Regions from separate parts of the Homo sapiens genome. Here all the other regions are linked to region 3. Evidence: promoter capture Hi-C in human tissues and cell types (Jung and others, 2019). All regions are on one chromosome and are shown on one strand. The core of a region is centred on a gene start or on the middle of the fragment in contact, and the rest is flanking DNA. Distances in the headings are between cores, read along the strand shown. Region 1 overlaps ZNF532 (zinc finger protein 532). Region 2 has its middle 14 kb from the start of LINC01926. Region 3 holds the start of ZNF532 (zinc finger protein 532). Region 4 overlaps ZNF532 (zinc finger protein 532).

Region 1 (3,004 bases), core at 128-2,627, 73 kb before region 3:
ATGTGTGCTTGGGGCAGACTTAAACGCCATTGGACAAATAGGACACTTGTAGAAGACTTCACAGTGAGAACCTTGAATGTGAGACTTCAGAGCAGCCACATCAGAGTACACAACATTGCAATGCACACATCTGTTAGAAAAATAAACACACGGTCATTAGCACAAGACCATAACACACGTGTAACTGCAAAAACTGGGTGAGATGAACACACTTTCATAGCCCTTTTAGGTTTTTAATGGCCCTTCGGAAGTATATTTTAGTTTTTTTCCTATTATAAATCAACTTAATTGTTTATGGGTTTTTTTTTTTTTTTTTTTTTTTTTTTTTGAGACAACGTCTCGCTCTGTCGCCCAGGCTGGAGTGCAGTGGTGTGATCCCGGCTCATTGCAACCTCCACCTCCCAGGTTCAAGCAATTCTCGTGCCTCAGCCTCCCAAGTAGCTGGGATTACAGGTGTGTACCACCATGCCCAATTACTTTTTGTATTTTTAGTAGAGATGGGGTTTCGCCATGTTGGCCAAGCTGGTCTCAAACTCCTAGCCTCAAGTGATTCGCCCACCTCAGCTTCCCAAAATGCTGGGATTATAGGTGTAAACCACCATGCCCAGCCTATTTTTATATGTTTAAGAGAAAAGATCATGAAGAAGAAAAATAAAACTCAAATGGTCTATTTTTGGAGCATCTTTAACATTTTTAAGAATGGATGTCAAATCTCCAGACCACTGTTTTTGGAGAGGTTACATATGCTGGATTCTGGCACCAGGGCCCTGAGTTTCCTACCCATCTCCAGGACCCAAATAGCATTTCTAATGGAAGAAATCTTCAGTGTCTAAACCTGCATGCCAAGAACAGAGGGGCAGAGAGGAACAAAGAAGTTCTGGCTCCAAGGCCTCGGCCCACTGTTTCCTGGTACACACTGATGTGGTCAATGTATGTGGGGTTCATGGTGGTCCACAGGATAGAGAAGGTCAACCACCTAGGTGTTTTGTCTCCTAGAAAATAAATTTAAGTACACTTGCATTTGTTTAAGAAATTGCATGAATTACAAACCTCTGAAAATTCAGCATCTCTAAAAAAAATTGTCTAGCTAACCTCCTTACTTTATGAATTTCTAGTAATCTCACAATTAGCTCATTCCCTGCTCAAATATAATCCAACAAAGACAAACTTTAAATCTAAGATACATTTCTCCTCTATCTCATCTTTTTCACACAAAGACTCTAAGCAACACTTACACCTCCACTTGATGACCAAGTCTTCCTTGTTCACACCTGAAAACTATTTAAGAGTGGTCTCTCTGCAGGTACAAAAGTCTCCAGAAATTTACCTCTAATACAACTGAACATATGTGCTCCCAGATGTGAGCTACCCAGGGAAGGAAGACTGCAGACAGGGCCTGGTTTCCGGGGGGCAGTGTCCAAAGACTTCTATGACAATCTAAGATGCTTCTATTCTTAGAACCTCCCTTCTGAATCATGGAGATGCTTCCGAAGTTACACAGGAGTGGCATGTTCTGGATTGTATGCATTCTATTTAAGCTTTGCAAGCATTCTGTTAAAATCATAACTAACGCATTAGCATTTCCAGTGACTGAAGGCATTATGTTCAGCAACAGCTATGTTTAAACACTAAATAACAATAGAGAATAAAAGGACAGCCTCTCTAGCCTATCTACTTGAACTGGTATTTCAGGCAATAGAGCCACCTAAGCATATTGAAACTATTTTGGGTTAACTTACTGAGTTGTCTTGAACAGGTTAATGCTCCTCTCTGGGCCAGTTACTCATTTGTAAAATGAGAAGAATTAAAATAGATCATTTTTAGCTCTTCCCAAACCTAGAAGCCTACAACTCCCATGAAAGAGGAAGATTATGTAAAACAAAAGTAGATGGGTAATTAATGAAACTGAAGGACCTACCACACCATAAACTATAAACAGAAGATTTTCCCATGAAGGATAGAAAGATGGTGTTTAAAGAGCAAAAGAACCAGGAAGGACAAAAAGGAATACAGAGAAAAGCAATAATTACCTAAAGTCACTTGGAGTGAGAGGAAGGTTTAATGTACAGCAAATAAAAAGGAAGTATCTAAAATAAAGATGGAATTTTTTGAAGCAAGAGGAAGTGGCTATGACTCAATCCAGAGAACACCATGGAGACCAAGGGAAACCCTCCTTAATGTAAGAAACGAAAGCAGGGTATTTTAAAAAGTCATAAAACATCTGCTTACAGGAAGAAGAGGCATTTCAGGGGGCAACAGAGGCCAATGGGGGATGTAAATAAGACAAAGAAAGGCAGACTTCAAACGGCTCATGCAGTATCTTAATGCTATGAAAAATCCTGTCTACTAAGAAATACGTAATATCCTGAAGTCCTATTCTGGATAGCAATAAAGTTTCTTTATTTTTTGAATTAAAAAAAATATTTACAGTATAAAATCCTATAACCATTCCCCTTTCTAGATATACAGTCCAGTGTATCAAGAGGCAGGAAAATTCAGAAAAAATATTTGACTTTTATCAATATATAACTTTTACCAAGTTAACCAGGAGCCAGGGATGACCCATCAGTATTTGGGAGATGTAATATGAGCAAGAGGAGAGACAGCAAGGCACACTGCACCAAGACGAGACAAAGTAAGGCGTGGGAACCATGCTGCTACATTAGACTCATCTGGCTAAAGAAAAGACACATTGAAAATGAGTAACTATAGAGCCAAAGGGAGCAAAAAACATGACAAGGCCACGGGGCTACTAAGCCCCACTTAAACATGAACCTGGACCCTCATATGAAGCAGCAGAGGAAAAGAATTACGTTTAAAATTGCTCCTCTCTTCTAAAGGAGCAGTCAACATGAACTAAACTTCACAACACATCGTTGTTTACCAGCCCCATATAGCCTCAAGTCCAGGGAGAAAAAAATCTACACTTAACACAAAATTTTTGGTTAACAACTTGAAATCTACAATTTGAAATACCGAATTTGAACAACTCTGTGAGTAGGGC
Region 2 (2,938 bases), core at 7-2,506, 65 kb after region 3:
GATTACAGGTGTGAGCCACTTTGCCCAGCCTAATGTTGCTACATTTACCAGTTTGCTTTGTTAGGACAATGTCTCTCCTTTAGGTTCACAGAACATGTTCCCTCTTCTTTCCCAACCTAAAATATCATAGCAAAAGATTGGAGACCTCACCATCCTGGCTAACACGGTGAAACCCCGTCTCTACTAAAATACAAAAAATTGGCCGGGCGTGGTGGTGGGTGCCTGTAGTCCCAGCTACTCAGGAGGCTGAGGCAGGAGAATGGCGTGAACCCGGGAGGCGGAGCTTGCAGTGAGCCGAGATCACACCACTGCACTCCAGCCTGGGTGACAGAGCAAGACTCCCTCTCAAAAAAAAAAAAAAAAAAGATTGGAGACCTCAGATCACAAAGAAATAATCCAGTGACAGAAAATGTTTACAACTGTACAAATCAATTTCTTAGCTTCCATTCACCTGCATATCTACCCTGAGTACCGTGGAACCTATCTTGGGTTTGGGTGTGGGTGCGAAGTTGAGATGGGCCTGGTGTTGATTCAATTACAGGGTATGACTGTGTTCTTGAAGGTGCCTTTCCCTCCTTGGCAGGTATCCTGTGTGACCCTTTGTGCAGGACGTATGCTCAGCCCTTGCTTCAGCCTTACTTCATGACTTTATGTTTGTCTGCAGAGACGCTTCCTCCTCTTGGCCTGCCATGACCTGTTCCTGAACGTCTGTCTAGTTTCACATTCAGAATCTCCCCTACCTATCAATTGTTGCAGCCACTCTGGACTGTTTCTGCCTCCTAAATACCCTGTGCTCTCTCTTCCTCTTTCTTTTTTTTATTTTTATTTTTTTGAGACTGAGTTTTGCTCTTCTTGCCCAGGCTGGAGTGCAATGGTGTGATCTCAGCTCACTGTAACCTCTGCTTCCTGGGTTCAAATGATTCTTCTGCGTCAGCCTCCCGAGTAGCTGGGATTACAGGCATGCGCCACCACACCTGGCTTTTTTTTTTTTTTTAGACGGAGTCTCGCTCTGTCTCCCAGGCTGGAGTGCAGTGGTGCAATCTCGGCTCACTGCAACCTCCACCTCCCGGGTCCTGGTTCAAGCAGTTCTCCTGCCTCAGCCTCCCCAGTAGCTGGGATTATAGGTGTGTGCCACCAGGCCTAGCTAATTTTTGTATTTTTAGTAAAGACAGGGTTTCACCATGTTGGCCAGGCTGGTCTTGAACTTCTGACCTTGTGATCCACCCGCCTCGGCCTCCCAAAGTGCTGGGATTACAGGCATGAGCCACCATGCCCGGCCTAATTTTTGTATTTTTAGTAGAGACGAGGTTTCATCATGTTGGCTAGGCTGGTCTCGAACACCTGACCTCAGGTAATCTGCCTGCCTCAGCCTCCCAAAGTGCTGGGATTATAGGCATGAGCCACCACACCCGACCTGACATCTCCTTATTTACTAGGCAAATTTCTACCTATTCTTCAAGTCTCAACATAAACTCTAGCTCTATTAAGCTTTCAATGATTCTTTTCAATGATGAGATCCCTCATGCTCCCACCAACCCTTGGTTGGCTTAGTGGACTGCAATCATCTGTGAGGCTCTCTGTTAAACCCCGCGAGTTGACGGAGAGCTCCTCTGTTGCTTTGTTCATTTACATGTTTGTTTTTTGTAGATGGAGTCTTGCTTTTTCGTCCAGGCTGGAGTGCAGTGGTGCGATCTTGGGTCACTGAAACTTCCGCCTCCCAGGCTCAAACGATTCTCCTGCCTCAGCCTCCTGAGTAGCTGGGACTACAGGCGCCCACCACCATGACTGGCTAATTTTTGTATTTTTAGTAGAGACAGTATTTCACCATGTTGGCCAGGCTGGTCTCGAGCTCCTGACCTCAAGTGATCCACCAGCCTTGCCCTCCCAAAGTGCTGGGATTACAGATGTGAGCCACTGCACCCAGCCCGTTTTCATATTTGGGTTGCTAACATTATTACCCTTCTGTAATTAATATTTGCTGACTGAAGGGCAGTAGAGATTATGGGCAGTAGAGATTATGTCCTGTAGATGAGATGTGTGAAGTGTTTGTCCTGCACAATGTCTGGCTTATCCTCCTAAGGTGCCCATTAAATCTTGGGCTTCTCATGTAAAAGGAGTGAACACACAGAGAAAAATGCAGAGTCCTTCTGAGTGAAGCCACCCAAAATGCTAACATACGTCTGAAGAGGGTTTATTTGTAGTGGAAACAAAACAGTAAGACTTTGAAGGCCAGGTGCAGTGGCTCCCACCCGTAATCCCAGCACTTTAGGAAGCTGAGGCAAGGGGGATCACTTGAGTCCAGGAGTTCGAGACCAGCCTGGGCAACATGGCATAACCTTGTCTCTACAAAAATAAAAAAAATTAGCTGGCAGTGGTGGCATCCTCCTATAGTCCCTGCTACTAGGGAGGCTGAGGTGGGAGGATCGCTTGAGCCTGAGAGGTCGAGGCTGCAGTGAGCTGTGATGTGCCACTGCACTTCAGGCTGGGTGACAGAGTGAGATCCTGTCTCAAAAAAAAAAAAAAAGACTTTGGAAAGTACTTGTGAGACATTCAGGTTTTGAGAATTTGGGTTTGGTGAACCTATTAGAGAAGAAAAAATAAGTAGATACCAGTTTCTTGTTGGCACTGGTCCTCACCTGCAGTCTTATTAATTTCCAATGCAGTCTACTTTTGGCAGGCCAAGAAGTTACATCCCTGGGGTGGTTTTTTTTTTTTTTTTTTAACTTAACAGTGGAAAGGACAGGAGACTTGGAGTCAGAAACTCCCAAGTCCCAGCCTTGACTCTGCCACTCTCTGCTAATGTGACCTTAAGATCTTGGTGCCTCAATTATGTCATCCTCAAAATGGGGGTATAACAATGGCAGTCGAGATCTCCTCACGAGGCTGTAGTGACTCATTAATGAGATACCTTAGATGTAGTTGACAGATTTTTTTTTTT
Region 3 (3,177 bases), core at 374-2,873:
GAGATCACACTGGATCCCATTCTGGAGCTGCTGGTTTCCTGTTTGGGGAAGTTGCAGTTCTTTTCACAAGGAACCCAAGGCAAAATGTTGAGTGTTCTCCTGCAAGCCCCCTCAGCCTTTGTTCTTCACTTTGCTACTCTCCTCACTCCTTCCTTCTCTCCTCTCCTCTCCAACCTCTGGTTTTGGAAGGTGCATTAAAATGCCTGCTCAAACCTAACTGCGATCTTTAAAGGCATCAGACATTTTCTACCACCCATTCCAGTACAGCTTTGAGTTAACAGGCATCTTTTCACAGATGAAGCCAGACTACCCGGCTTCCCCCTGGTATTGCATTAGTATTCCACATTAAACATATGCCACAAAGAATCCAATGGCGAACTCACCGTCAACAGCCCCCAAAATCAATAAAAGACATTCCACCACTTGAGTCGGAGTGAAAAACCTTTCAGGTTAACACAAGAGAGCAAGGTAAAAGAAAGGTGATGAATGAACAAAAGGCAAATCTACCTTCAGACTCCTCAAATCCTAAAAAGGTGGCTAGGCTGCCTCGATTTGGTGAAGCCCTTCCTTTTCTTATAATCATCGGGAAAATGCCACATGTGTACTGCTTTCGTCTTATGCAAAACAGCACATTCTCCACAAGGCCCTGACGCCTACCATTCTCCACACTCGCTTCCTTCCAGGCCTGACTCTCCCAATTGCCCAGACACATGCGATTTAATGAAGGCATTCAGATTTCGCCTTGATCGCAATACCATCATAAAGTCACTCTAATCCCATTAAACTGGGATAACATTAAGAGCATTTCTTCTCCACTCTGAACCCAATTTTATCTCCTGGGTAGCAATCCACGGTCCGTCTGTGTCTAAATGGATCTGCAAATAAATATTTAAATTCATGCTCAAAACAGCGTATCTCACCTTGTGAACCTTGACCTTTTGGAAAGACTTTAGACCAATGTTCAGTTACTGTCACACGGCTGCATTCTCAGCAAATAGGAAAGGGTTAAAAGCAGCCCCAGTCAACAGGCCTACAAGGAAAAAAAAGACAGCATGTATGGCTAACAGCATCACTGGAATGCATTTATGTTCATTTCCTAGAACGATATTGTTACCTTTTGGCCTTCATAATAGTCAGAAGCATCCCCAACACCCTTTAGTAGCTTCTAAAAGAAAAAGCACAAGACAGAACATACCCTGCAAGAGAAAAAAAGCATGCAAAGTAGCATTCTCCAGCAACAAACAAACTACCATTACAAACCCCTCAGTTCATTTTGGTTTTGTTTTGTTATAAACACCGAGAAAGAGAGAGAGAGACTGCATCAACCAAGTGTCCCCACCCTAGCAAGGCACATTTTTTTCTCTAATAAGGGTCATAAATCTCAGCTCCTTGTCCATCCCTTAAGCAAAAGAAAAAGGCAGGAAAAGCCCAAGTAATCTCAGACCCTGCAAACCTGCACCTTTTTTTCCATCTTCTCTACCCAGAATCTTTTAGGGCTCCATTAGTCACGTACCAGTGCTGTGTGGTGTCTAAGTGTGCATTCACATACTGTGTAGGGATGGTACCTTCCTGCAAGCTCCTCTGCTTTTGGCTGCCATGAAGGGAGGAAGCTGCTATCCTACTGTAGTAGCTCAGTGACTGCATTGTGTTCAGGAGCTGATCTGCCTCAAACCAGTTTCAGCCGGTTCTGGTCACCCTACATAAAAAAGCTATGGCAACCCTCGCTGAGTTGCCAACAAGTCCCTGAAAATCATCAGCACAGGGGGGATCTCGCTGGGGTTTGCTCTTCCCTCTTAGGTCTTCCTGAGGAGGAGAAGGTCATCGTGTGTCCCCCCACCCCACGAGCACACAGCCTTGGAAATGCTCACCTCGCAAGCACCCCAGAGCCCCTCAGGGCCCATCCCCCCTCCCCTCCACCCCACAGCCCACCGCAGACACTGTTTCCCCCTCCTTCTCCTTCCCCCACTTACCTCCCACAACCTGGCTCAGATCTTTGTGTACGTGTGTGTCAGTGTGTGCTCTCTGTGTTGGTGGCTGACAAAGAGCCCCCAAGAAAGCGAGCTATGTGTGTCTGCTCACACGGGATGCGTCGGCTGCAGAGCCGGCCTGGCCTCCTAGCACAGTGGTGCTGGCTTGTTGACCAGGCTCCTCTCTGCTGTCACCCCCACCCCACCCAGCCCCCTCCTCCCTTCCGTCCCTCTCCTCTCTCTCCCAGCCCTGTCACCACCACCAGCAGCCCCCCAGTCTCCTCCTCCTCCTCCAACCTTCTCTTCTTTCAAGCACCTGGGGGGAGAAGTCCAAATCCCTTCACCTCGGGGGAAGAAAACTGGGGCTGTCTGGGGAGGGGGCGGGGGGCGAAGGCAGGGCCAGTGGGAGAGGGGGCACGGAGGCCTCTGGAAACGCATCTGTGCCCGGCCGGCGCCGGCGGGGGGAGTAGGAGAGCCGCGCTCACGTGGCCCCCGTCTCGTAACCTGCGGGGCCTAGCCCGGGCGGTTCCTCCTCGGCCCCCCAAGCCAGCTGGCGGGGCGCGAAGGCCGGCTGTCCCCAAGGCCAGGGTGGGACAGGCCACTGCGGGCAGGCCCAGGGGCCTGAGCCTCACGCGCTCACCCCGGCCCGCAGGAGTGGGCACGAGGGGCCGCACCCCGCCTCTGCCCGGCGCCCACCCGCGCCCCTGGGTCCGGCTGCCCTGCGCCCCTCGTTCGCCCCGGCCGCCTCCCGCCGCCCCGCACCCCCAGAGGCGCACACCCACCCCCTTCCCGGGGTTGGCCTTCGCGGCGGTCAAGCCCGGGCGTCTGGGCCGCAGCTCGGATGACCTTTGTTCAGCGCGGCGCCGCCGGCGGCTGCTGCTGTGGCTGCTGCTGCTGTCGTCGGAGCGGCGGCGGCGGCGGCTTCCATGTTACGGGCGTGTCATCTGCGTTCCCGCTGCCGGGGTCTGTGTGTGCGTGTGCGGTGGAGCGGCCTCGCCGCCGGGCCGGGCGGCGGCGGCGGCGGCGGCTCGGCCCGGGCGGCGAGCGAACAAAAGGGAGCGCGGGCGAGGGGGAGGGGGCGGCCGGTGGGGGAAGGGAGCTCCGGGACCGGGCGGCGGCAGCGCGAAGCCCCGCGGCCGGCGGGCGCCGACGCCCGGCCGCTGCGGAGCCCCGAGTCCGGCGGCGGCGAGAAGGCGCCCCGCGGACCTGC
Region 4 (3,412 bases), core at 449-2,948, 95 kb before region 3:
CTCAGACTAAGCCAGTAGTTCGCAAAGCATGGTCCCAAGATGAGCAGCATCAGCATCAGCATCAGCTAGGGCTTGTGAGAAATGCAAATGATCGGGTTCCATCCCAGACCTGCTGAATCAGAAGCTGTGGGGTAGAGGCCAGCAACTAGCTGAACAAGCCTTCCAGTTAATTCTGACGCACACTCCAATCTTGGGAACCGCCAGCTAGATTATGGTGCCAAGTCAAAGGAAGGGTGTTAGCTTTCCTTGATATGAATGCTACATCAGCAGCCACAAAGAAGGATGGGTTATAGCAAGATAGTCAAATAAAGACAGAATACTTTTTCATAGAACTTAGCTAAGCCATATCTACCTCACATAATATCTGTGTACTTTTATTTTTTTTTTAAGTGAAAAGCTCTGCATTTAAGATCTGCCTTGCAAAATCCCTCCTAGCTTCTCTTCCTATAATTAAGTCATTGATAGAAAGACTGAGGAAAATCTGATCCAAGATGGAAGCTTTCTCTCCAACAAGGCAGTGAGCCATGAGTCAGCTATCCATGCAATATTTCACCCAGGCCCTCCTGCACTACACTGTACAGAACAGTATCAAAACAGACAGAATCTGTCAACAGTTTTGCTGAAACCCAGTTTCTGTCTAGAGGGTTATTCTACCTACCAACTGGTCCCTCTGTAAAGAAAAGGAGATTGATCTGCAATCACATGTTCTTAGTCTTCGCCTAGTTCTTTTGCCCAGTGCTCAGGCAGGAACCAGCTACTTCACCATCTGTTCTCTGAAATGGCTGTGCTCAAGTAAGGTCAGATAGACTTTATCTGAAATCTTCCGAATCTATCCAACCTTCTCCTTTCACACAAGCAGGGTATCTGGCCACAGCTCATTCTCCATGACATGCATATATTTGCAATCTCCTTTCACCCCATGTAAAGATGGAAAATTGGCCCAGTACAATGGCTCACACCTGTAATCCCGACACTTTGGAAGGCCAAGATGAGACGATCACTTGAGCTCAGGAATTCAAGACCAGCCTGGGCATCAGAAGGCATCTCTACCAAAAAATTTTTTTAAATTAGTCAAGCAGGCCAGGCGCAGTGGCTCATGCCTGTAATCCCACTTGAGGTCAGGAGTTCAAGACCAGCCTGGGCAACAGGGTGAAACCCTGTCTCTACTAAAGATACAAAAATTAGCTGGGCGTGGTGGCACGCACCTGTAATCCCAGCTACTTAGGAGGCTGAGGCAGGAGAATCGCTTGAACCTGGGAGGTGGAGGTTGCAGTGAGCCAAGATCGTGCCACTGCACTCCAGTTTGGGTGACAGAGTGAGACCCTATCTCAAAAAAATAAAAAAAGAAGAAAAATCTACTTAGAAGTGGTAAATGTATAACGTCTCTGTATGCAGAACCTTCCATTTTGGTGAGCTGCTTTCTAGCAAAATTTAATTTTAAAAAAATCTATAGTGTTCAGAGAGGAAATACAGTATAGAGAGAAAAACATCTATTATGTATTGTGCTACATGCTTTCATTTTATTTAATTTAAAAAGACTCTTAGGTGGTAAATATTTCCATTTTAGACCTATGCAAACTGAAGCTGACGCTGGAAGATGGTGGTTGTTAATTATTTTTTCACAAAGTCACACTGGTAGTTGTGGTGCCAGAATATATACCCAAGTCTCCCAGGCTCTTCCCAAGTTACAGACACAGTACTGGACCACATCTATCTACATCATGAAGAATCTTGAGGCCGAGTGCACTGGCTCATGCCTATAATCCCAGCACTTTGGGAGGCCGAGGTAGACAGGTCACTTGAGCCCAGGAGTTCAACTGGGTGACACAGTGAAACACCGTCTCTATAAAAACACAAAAATTAGCTGGGTGTGGTGGTACACACCTGTAGTCCTAGCTACTCGGGAGGACTGCTTAAGCCTGGGAGGCGGAGGTTGCAGTGAGCCAAGATTACCCTACTGCACTTTAGCTTGGGCAACAGAGTGAGACCTTGTCAAAAAAAAAAACCAAAAAAAAACAAAAAAAAACAAAAAACAAAAAACTGAAAAGATCTAAGGTTCATTTTGATGGCACCAGAGTTCCGTAATTCAGCACATATGCCTCTGCTTTAGGATATTTCAATTAATAAGTTAAGGTTCCTTGATGTGTAGGAGAACCAGGCAGCAAATGAGAGAATGATTACAATTATCACAGATTGTGTTGTAATTTTCTAGATTTGAACAGGTACATATAACATGTAACTTCTTTTTAATTTTAATACTGGCTCACATAATTACAGAATGTTTGATCTCTAAGAATGACCTCAGATATTATCTCATTCAAAGGATCTTAGTTTGGTTCCTAAAAGGCCTTCTAGAACAACAAAAAAGAAGAGCAGGAGATCCACAACCCACCTAAAATTGTATGTAAAACTCTGTGCATTTGTACATGGATCTGAGGAAAGGCTCACGGCTGGGATGAGATCATCAGGTTAATGTGACACTGACACGCCCGTCCTCCTGATTTTATAGTTGAGAATATAGAGACTACAAAGGTGGTGGGATTTCTGTGGTTAGAAAGCTAGTTAGGTACCTGAACCTAGACTGCAACTTGTGTGTATCTGTGACTAACACAAAGCCCCTTCCCATATGTGCAAGTAACAATCCAAAGAGAACTGCTTCAATCAGGGACTCCAGAGATACTCTGCAAGGCACAATGCTGTAAACCATAGAAGACTGTAATAATAAAATGGACATACAACTTGCCCTCAAAGACTTTACCATTTACAAGGACAGCTAAAATTTGGCCATAACAAAACAATAATACCAACTTTAGAAAGCACAATAAAAATTAGATAATACATAAGCATTTGAGAAAAAACTTTAAAAAGAGAAATTGGTAAGTTTTTTACTGCTTTCTGTATATAGAATTTGTAACAAGAACTTCTTAAAATGCTGCTGCTTTAACTGTTTTTCTTTTTTAAATAGCTAAAGCAGTAATTCAGCAAATTGTAGGTTTTAAGATGATTACGCCTTTAATAAATATGCACTGAATATCTGTCAATATTTTTTTAAAGTATTTGACTTGATATCAGATTACGACAAATAACTGGAAAAAAGTTAAAAACCACTGAAAGTAGATACTGACAATTCATTTTTTAAAAAGAGCATCAGAGACACAGAAAAGCTACTGAATAACTAGCAGAGCCAGAATTAGGTTTTTGTATTTTTTTTTTTTTTTTTTGACACATTGTCTTGCTCTGTTGCCTAGGCTGGAATGCAGTGGCACAATCTTGGCTCACTGCAACCTCCGCCTCCTGGATTTAAGCAATTCTCGTGCCTCAGCCTCCCAAATAGCTGGGATTACAAGGCACCTGCCACTATGCCCAGCTCATTTTTGTACTTTTAGTAGAGATGGGGTTTCGTCATGTTGGC

The links. Contacts are between HindIII fragments. The study calls those that stand out against the background at their distance.
Region 1: a contact is called between a fragment that was not itself captured here and the fragment with the promoter of ZNF532 in region 3, in 2 of the 25 tissues and cell types used here (IMR-90 fibroblasts and thymus).
Region 2: a fragment that was not itself captured here is called in contact with the fragment with the promoter of ZNF532 in region 3 in 5 of the 25 tissues and cell types used here (H1 embryonic stem cells, IMR-90 fibroblasts, liver and 2 more).
Region 4: a fragment that was not itself captured here is called in contact with the fragment with the promoter of ZNF532 in region 3 in 2 of the 25 tissues and cell types used here (dorsolateral prefrontal cortex and lymphoblastoid cells).

Annotation. Positions count from the first base shown.
Region 1 is chr18:58,936,571-58,939,574 of GRCh38, reverse strand. It overlaps ZNF532 (zinc finger protein 532), which reads right to left. Exons shown (of 10, transcript NM_001375912.1): 5 at 1-130. Among named protein-coding and RNA genes, the nearest start is that of ZNF532, 73 kb to the right of the region's middle. The HindIII fragment of the contact is 4,327 bases long and covers 1-3,004 here.
Region 2 is chr18:58,798,541-58,801,478 of GRCh38, reverse strand. No RefSeq gene overlaps it. Among named protein-coding and RNA genes, the nearest start is that of LINC01926, 14 kb to the left of the region's middle. The HindIII fragment of the contact is 7,341 bases long and covers 1-2,938 here.
Region 3 is chr18:58,863,323-58,866,499 of GRCh38, reverse strand. It overlaps ZNF532 (zinc finger protein 532), which reads right to left and starts at 1,623. Exons shown (of 10, transcript NM_001375912.1): 1 at 1,115-1,623; 2 at 921-1,030. The HindIII fragment of the contact is 28,079 bases long and covers 1-3,177 here.
Region 4 is chr18:58,957,875-58,961,286 of GRCh38, reverse strand. All of the region lies in intron 7 of ZNF532 (zinc finger protein 532), which reads right to left. Among named protein-coding and RNA genes, the nearest start is that of ZNF532, 95 kb to the right of the region's middle. The HindIII fragment of the contact is 4,530 bases long and covers 1-3,412 here.